2 separate regions of the Homo sapiens genome follow, and region 1 is linked to region 2. Evidence: promoter capture Hi-C in 16 types of primary human blood cells and fetal thymus (Javierre and others, 2016). All regions are on one chromosome and are shown on one strand. The core of a region is centred on a gene start or on the middle of the fragment in contact, and the rest is flanking DNA. Distances in the headings are between cores, read along the strand shown. Region 1 holds the start of CXCL2 (C-X-C motif chemokine ligand 2). Region 2 holds the start of PPBP (pro-platelet basic protein).

Region 1 (4,071 bases), core at 340-2,839, 110 kb before region 2:
ACCTCCTGAGCCCAACAGGCCCCTCGCAGCTCCCAGTGACTTCCATGGATCAAAACACAGACTTCCATACAACAAAAAATTGATGCTACTGGAATTACTAGAGTTCGAGATGTTCCAAGATTTCAAAGAGAGAAAGGATGGGGGATTGCAACACTGTTAACTAAAATAAACACTGAATTGACCCTTGGCAATGGTCTGTTCCCGCACCCAACACCTGGCTCCACTACGTTGAAACACACACACACACACACACACACACACACACACACACACACACACGTGATATTTGCTTTTAAGATCATAAAACACCAGGAAGGAGACAAAAGCTCTTATGCGTCATCTGAGATGACACATGTACTGTTAAAGCGTGCGTTTATTTCAAACATTAATGAAATTTGCAGAACCCAAACTAAAGAGAGAGGATAGATAAGACATGCTGCAGTTCTTGCCCTAACTTTCAATCCCAACAACTGAAATGTCTTCCAGAGAAGTAACTCCCCCCGGTAAGGATGTAGCGCGGTCCCTACGTGGGTCTAAGGGATCTGACCCACGACGCACTGCACTGGGTTCACGAAGCGCCTCCTCGCAGGCGGTTATCTCGGTATCTCTGAGAGCGGCGGGCTCTCGCTCCCGCTCCAGGGATTCGGGGCAGAAAGAGAACATCCCACAGTTGGCGGGAGTTACGCAAGACAGTCAGACCCGGACGTCACTCGTGAGTGCCCCGACCCCCCTCCACCCCAGAGGCGGGGCCATCGCCTTCCTTCCGAACTCGGGATCGATCTGGAGCTCCGGGAATTTCCCTGGCCCGGGACTCCGGGCTTTCCAGCCCCAACCATGCATAAAAGGGGTTCGCCGTTCTCGGAGAGCCACAGAGCCCGGGCCACAGGCAGCTCCTTGCCAGCTCTCCTCCTCGCACAGCCGCTCGAACCGCCTGCTGAGCCCCATGGCCCGCGCCACGCTCTCCGCCGCCCCCAGCAATCCCCGGCTCCTGCGGGTGGCGCTGCTGCTCCTGCTCCTGGTGGCCGCCAGCCGGCGCGCAGCAGGTGGGTCCCGGCGCCCTGGGGTCCCCGGGCCGGACGCGGCTGGGGTGGGCGCCCCGCGCCGACAGCCCCGCTCAATCAGCGAGTCTCTTCTTCCCTAGGAGCGCCCCTGGCCACTGAACTGCGCTGCCAGTGCTTGCAGACCCTGCAGGGAATTCACCTCAAGAACATCCAAAGTGTGAAGGTGAAGTCCCCCGGACCCCACTGCGCCCAAACCGAAGTCATGTAAGTCTCGCCCATCGCTGCCGCTGCCACTGCTGGGGTCCCCGACTCTCCCGCTGCCCCAAACCCTGTCCTCAGCCCGACCTCCTGTCTCACGAGATTCCCTTCTCTCTGCAGAGCCACACTCAAGAATGGGCAGAAAGCTTGTCTCAACCCCGCATCGCCCATGGTTAAGAAAATCATCGAAAAGATGCTGAAAAAGTAAGTTATAATTTCCATGTACACAGGCGACTGGAGCTGTTGGTCAGAAATACTGGCGTCTGCCCCCTAAAAAGTAAATCAGGAAAACCCAGGGTTAGCTGCAGGACTGAAAAAATTATTATTTTCACAAAGTTGCCATTAAGGTTATTAATCTGTTCTGGTGCCAGAGGATATTCCCAGTGCCCAGGGTCACCACCCAGGTTCTTCCCTCCTGCCAGTGAATGTAGGTAAAACTGCTTTCATGTAAGGTCTCATTGGAGTTTGCCAGTTGTGCTGAAGTGTTTTCCACCTGTTAAAAAACACAAGCTTCATTTCCCCTAGTTCCTACTGACTTTCAGACCTGAAAAGCAGACCCCCTGGTTTTTTGTAAAAGTTTAGGGTTGAAGTGCAGAGATTTCACAATAATATTGCACTGGGTATATAACTGGTTGCCACCACCTATTAGCCATGTCACTCAGAGACAATATTATTTAGTTTATCTGAGACTCAGCAAAACAGGGAAAATAATGGTAGCTACATCATGAGGTTGCTTTGAGGCTCAAGTGAGGCCCAGTATGACAAAGAGCAATAGGCTCTGGCTGTTTTAGCCAGTAAAACAGTGTAGACTGCCACTCCTCCACCCCACGTCACCCCCATTCCTAAAAGAGCATCCCAAGCCTAGAGGTCCTTGCCACACAGCACAGCTGTCACAGGCAGTACCCACTTGGGTGCCAGGCTGGGGAAACTGCATTCAGAAAACTCTAGAGCCTGGGGAAACAGGACAGGAGAAGACTGTTGTGCAGTCAGCTTTCCTGAGCACCTACTCAGGGCACCCATTTTCTCATTACAGTGGCAAATCCAACTGACCAGAAGGAAGGAGGAAGCTTATTGGTGGCTGTTCCTGAAGGAGGCCCTGCCCTTACAGGAACAGAAGAGGAAAGAGAGACACAGCTGCAGAGGCCACCTGGATTGCGCCTAATGTGTTTGAGCATCACTTAGGAGAAGTCTTCTATTTATTTATTTATTTATTTATTTGTTTGTTTTAGAAGATTCTATGTTAATATTTTATGTGTAAAATAAGGTTATGATTGAATCTACTTGCACACTCTCCCATTATATTTATTGTTTATTTTAGGTCAAACCCAAGTTAGTTCAATCCTGATTCATATTTAATTTGAAGATAGAAGGTTTGCAGATATTCTCTAGTCATTTGTTAATATTTCTTCGTGATGACATATCACATGTCAGCCACTGTGATAGAGGCTGAGGAATCCAAGAAAATGGCCAGTGAGATCAATGTGACGGCAGGGAAATGTATGTGTGTCTATTTTGTAACTGTAAAGATGAATGTCAGTTGTTATTTATTGAAATGATTTCACAGTGTGTGGTCAACATTTCTCATGTTGAAGCTTTAAGAACTAAAATGTTCTAAATATCCCTTGGACATTTTATGTCTTTCTTGTAAGGCATACTGCCTTGTTTAATGTTAATTATGCAGTGTTTCCCTCTGTGTTAGAGCAGAGAGGTTTCGATATTTATTGATGTTTTCACAAAGAACAGGAAAATAAAATATTTAAAAATATAAAATGTTTGTTTTATTTTGGGGGAAACAAGGACTATATTTGCTGAAAAATCTGATGATTTACATCAATATTTATTTCTCAATTTTTTTCTGGGTTTTCAATCTGCTATACAGATAAACTATGAATTATGCCTAATTTCATGTGGTGATTGCTGTCACTCCCCTTGGCTCTCACCTAGTAAAGAATGTGCCTTACCAAACTATGGTCTTGCCCCTGATGGGAGAATCACTGATACATATTGCCATTTTTACAAGAAGTTCCTTACTACCTTGCTACTCAAATTTACCTCCTTAAAAATATGGAGGGGGGAAATATGGCAGAGACGTTTTAACCAGAGCAACTCCATCTTGAATAGGGGCTAGGCAAAATGGGGCTGAGGTTTACTGGGCTGGGCTGCATTCCCAGTAGGTTAGGCATTCGAAGTCACAGGATGAGATAGGAGATTGGCACAAGATACAGGTCATAAAGACCTTGCTGATAAAACAGGTTACAGTAAAGAAGCCAGCTAAAACCCACCAAAGCCAAGATGGAGACGAGAGTGACCTCTGTCGTTCTCACTCGTCATTATACACTAATTATAATATATTAGCATGCTAAAAGACACTCTTACCAGCCCCATGACAGTTTACAAGTGTCATGGCAACATCAGGAAGTTACCCTGTATGGTCTAAAAAAGAGAGGAACCCTCAGTTCTAGGAAATTGCCCACCCCTTTCCTAGAAAACTCATGAATAGTCCACCCCTTGTTTAGCATATAATCAAGAAATAACCATAAAAATGGCCAACCAGCAGCTCAGGCTGCTGCTTTGCCTATGGAATAGCCACTCTTTATTGCTTTACTTTCTTAATAAACTTGTTTTCATTTAAAAAAAATTAAATTCTTGTAGTTATCTTAACAAGGGATCGCATTTGTTTGCTTTTGCTAAATAATTTTTCATATAATTGTTGACAATTTAATGAAGCTGTCAATAAAATGGTGGCTAAAATATTTTGTTTTTCAAAACTCAAGTAGTTTGTGTCATAACAGAACCATAAAAAGTGAGTGGC
Region 2 (4,313 bases), core at 953-3,452:
AAGTTACAAGGGCTTTATATAATAGAAAAGCTTAAAATAAGGCAGAAAAACTCCTCATACCAGAGTTGTCTTCTTTTTCATTGGAGGGTACAATACCGAAGTTAAAATCATTAGCTACAGATTACAGCATACAGGCTAAATGTCTACATACAAAACAATCAATAAAACTTTTTGTTTCAGCTAAACTTAGAAATAAATCATTGTCCTATTTAGTGTCAGTAGGTTCTACAGTAATTAGTACATCAATCATTTGAGGAACTCGTAATAAAATACTTTACTCAGAGATAGAATGTCACCATCAAGTCACGAAACCTTTCCAGGGCGAGTTAATTTGGAAGTCTGCTTACTTCTAAAGTAAACTGTCAAATGTGGTCTGTAGGTTATCGCATTTAAAAACAGGACCTGAGAACTTGAGTAGACATAGTAGATAACTATTAAACAATAGGGAAAATTGGCTTGAAAACAAAAACATGATTTAAAAAATTACTATATTCATCTTTTTGATAGAGAGTAATTTTGAACATTTAGTATTTTAAGCATTTCTTCTAAAATTTAAGGATATGAAAAGTAAGAAAAGAATATGGAAAATTTAAATAATATTCTGTGAGACTTATACATAGTTGTAAAAGGAAGAAAACTTGTTGCCAGTGCCACTTACATCTGCCTCTTCTTTATTGACAATCTTCCAAATAAATTTAAATAGCATAGTTGCTTTGGGTCCTGTCGAGTTTGGCCTGGAATTGTAGGTGATTAGAAAGGATAGGGAAGCTTTCATGTGATACGTATTCATTGATTTATTAATTATTTAAGACCTACTTTATATTGAAGTATCCTACATGTTATAGGATACATGAGACATTCAAACAAACACAGGACATGCCACTCCCTACAAAAGTGCATGGTTCAATTGAGGAAGGAAGTCTTACAGATGGGACAGAGAACCAGAAAATAACATAAAGCCAACATGTAATGTGTAGGTCCACCTCTCTATCTTTGTAGGGATATAGCATTTCAGACCAAAACCTTTAATTTGGGTCTGAGAATTCAGGAACAAATATTTTCCTTGGTAAGGACATTTCTTGCACAATTTCTAATAGTGCAAAATTGGAAACACCGTGAAGGGCACCAACAAGGCAAGGTTGAGTAACTATTGTTCTTATCACAGGACGTCACATGGTCATTAAGAAGAATGGGGGAAAACTACATTAAGATGACCTGAAAAGATAAGGAACACATATTTTTTGAAGGATAAAAGTCAGCTGTATAGTGATCCATATACAATACTTCTATGTATATGTGTACCTCTATGTCTTAAACGTGTCTCATTGTATACATATACATGTGTGCATATAAGTGCAGACAGAATTGAAAACTAATGCAAAATTGTTACCAGTGTTTACCACTGAATAGTAGGAATGTGGAGAAATGATGAAGAGAAATTTGTGTTTTATTTCAAAGACATCTGCAGCATACGAATCTTTTGCAATAAATTATATAATTTTTCTGTTAAATTAAAAATAAAAAGAAAAATAAATATGCTGGGTCCTACTTTTTAGGTATTCTTAGGTGGTAGAAACAAGTAGCTTCTTTTGTAATATAAAGGAGGATGAGTTTCATTTGTAGTTTCTAGATGAAATTACAAAAGATAATATAGATTGAAGGCAGAAAGAATCCAATAAGCTAAAATCCAAAGACAACCTTTGACGGTAATTGGCTCTTATTTTACTTACATGCTCCAAACCAATCCCAATATTTATCAACATTCATGAAAAGAACATTTGCTTTCTTTGGCAAGCAAAGATAACTTTCTCTTTCAAGGGCCACATGTTTGTGCCTTCAGGTGCTCCTAAAGTTTCTATTAAGCCTAAAAACTGCAGTATAGAAAAGGCAGGGCGTATTGTTATAAATCATACAAAGAAAATGCATGTAGTATTTCAGTCTAGTTCTTACCTTCCTGAACGGAGTTCTTACACAGGTGTAAGGAAGATAAGTATTGAGAAAGGGAGAGTGGGAATGTGAAGTGATGCACATTAAGCAAGTTAGTAGGAATTTGACCTGTCTGGTCTTTCTCTGGGTTGGGCACAGCTTCAAATGCTTATGTGTGTATCACCACATACCCTCACTTCCTCCTTTCCTACCTCTTCCTTCTTACTGGCTTTGAGAAAGAGCATATAAATGACATCTTCAGGGCATGAGAAGCCACTTATCTGCAGACTTGTAGGCAGCAACTCACCCTCACTCAGAGGTCTTCTGGTTCTGGAAACAACTCTAGCTCAGCCTTCTCCACCATGAGCCTCAGACTTGATACCACCCCTTCCTGTAACAGTGCGAGACCACTTCATGCCTTGCAGGTGCTGCTGCTTCTGTCATTGCTGCTGACTGCTCTGGCTTCCTCCACCAAAGGACAAACTAAGAGAAACTTGGCGAAAGGCAAAGGTAGAGGCCCTGCTTCTCTGCACTTGTTGCTGCTTCTGCTACACCTGTCTCTGGGGTAAAGACTAGCTTGGTGCCTTTGGGGCTGGAGAGGGCCATTATACCAATAACTCCAATTGGAGGAGACACACAGGGGGGTCACTTCTCACTTCTTGTGTGCTGGGCAATCTTCTGGGCACTTTACTAAAGCGTTACAGATCATATTCACAATGGCTTTATGAGAGAGGTACAATTGCCCTCAATCTGCAAATAAGAGACCTGAGGAAAATATTCATGACCACCAATAGGTCACATTTTCTACCCTAGAGGAAAGTCTAGACAGTGACTTGTATGCTGAACTCCGCTGCATGTGTATAAAGACAACCTCTGGAATTCATCCCAAAAACATCCAAAGTTTGGAAGTGATCGGGAAAGGAACCCATTGCAACCAAGTCGAAGTGATGTAAGTTGCTGTTTCTGTGCTATTGCCTTATCAGAGAAACCCTCTACCTCCATCCACATATGCACTCGTTTCCTCCAGTCTCATGGATTAGTTCTGATATTCAGATCAGGACACCCACAGATAACCCTGTTCTCTTTTGCAGAGCCACACTGAAGGATGGGAGGAAAATCTGCCTGGACCCAGATGCTCCCAGAATCAAGAAAATTGTACAGAAAAAATTGGCAGGTGATGAATCTGCTGATTAATTTGTTCTGTTTCTGCCAAACTTCTTTAACTCCCAGGAAGGGTAGAATTTTGAAACCTTGATTTTCTAGAGTTCTCATTTATTCAGGATACCTATTCTTACTGTATTAAAATTTGGATATGTGTTTCATTCTGTCTCAAAAATCACATTTTATTCTGAGAAGGTTGGTTAAAAGATGGCAGAAAGAAGATGAAAATAAATAAGCCTGGTTTCAACCCTCTAATTCTTGCCTAAACATTGGACTGTACTTTGCATTTTTTTCTTTAAAAATTTCTATTCTAACACAACTTGGTTGATTTTTCCTGGTCTACTTTATGGTTATTAGACATACTCATGGGTATTATTAGATTTCATAATGGTCAATGATAATAGGAATTACATGGAGCCCAACAGAGAATATTTGCTCAATACATTTTTGTTAATATATTTAGGAACTTAATGGAGTCTCTCAGTGTCTTAGTCCTAGGATGTCTTATTTAAAATACTCCCTGAAAGTTTATTCTGATGTTTATTTTAGCCATCAAACACTAAAATAATAAATTGGTGAATATGAATCTTATAAACTGTGGTTAGCTGGTTTAAAGTGAATATATTTGCCACTAGTAGAACAAAAATAGATGATGAAAATGAATTAACATATCTACATAGTTATAATTCTATCATTAGAATGAGCCTTATAAATAAGTACAATATAGGACTTCAACCTTACTAGACTCCTAATTCTAAATTCTACTTTTTTCATCAACAGAACTTTCATTCATTTTTTAAACCCTAAAACTTATACCCACACTATTCTTACAAAAATATTCACATGAAATAAAAATTTGCTATTGACTTGTTGTCATCTATTATTAATTTTAACAGGATTGTTGGGGAAAAAAAGCTTTAATTTTCCTCTCTTTTTTGTATACTTGGTATTTCACAGTTTGAACAACAAAAGTTACTAAATTGATGATCGGTGTCATTCTTAATGTAGTATGATAACAGTTCCAATTTATTAATCATTTTAATATGCCAGGAATACTAAGTGTTTTCCATGCATGAACTAAACAATTTTTTAAAAGATAGATATGATCTGGTTAAAAGAACATCCTCTGGAGTTTGAATAATGAGGTAACCTGGCTCTGCCACTTGTTAGCTGTGTATATCAGGTCATGTTGCTTAATTTCTCTGTACCTTAGGTTCTTCATCCCT

Evidence for each region. The method cuts DNA at HindIII sites, captures the fragments that hold promoters and counts their contacts. A CHiCAGO score of 5 or more calls a contact.
Region 1: a contact is called between a fragment that was not itself captured here and the fragment with the promoter of PPBP in region 2, in 1 of 17 cell types (megakaryocytes). The highest score is 16.4, in megakaryocytes.

The regions. Positions count from the first base shown.
Region 1 is chr4:74,095,993-74,100,063 of GRCh38, reverse strand. It overlaps CXCL2 (C-X-C motif chemokine ligand 2), which reads left to right and starts at 869. Exons shown (of 4, transcript NM_002089.4): 1 at 869-1,043; 2 at 1,142-1,265; 3 at 1,380-1,463; 4 at 2,293-3,024. The coding sequence starts at 944. The coding sequence ends at 2,308. The HindIII fragment of the contact is 364 bases long and covers 1,408-1,771 here.
Region 2 is chr4:73,986,079-73,990,391 of GRCh38, reverse strand. PPBP (pro-platelet basic protein) reads left to right here and starts at 2,202. Exons shown (of 3, transcript NM_002704.3): 1 at 2,202-2,436; 2 at 2,740-2,875; 3 at 3,018-3,953. The coding sequence starts at 2,289. The coding sequence ends at 3,120. The HindIII fragment of the contact is 3,234 bases long and covers 771-4,004 here.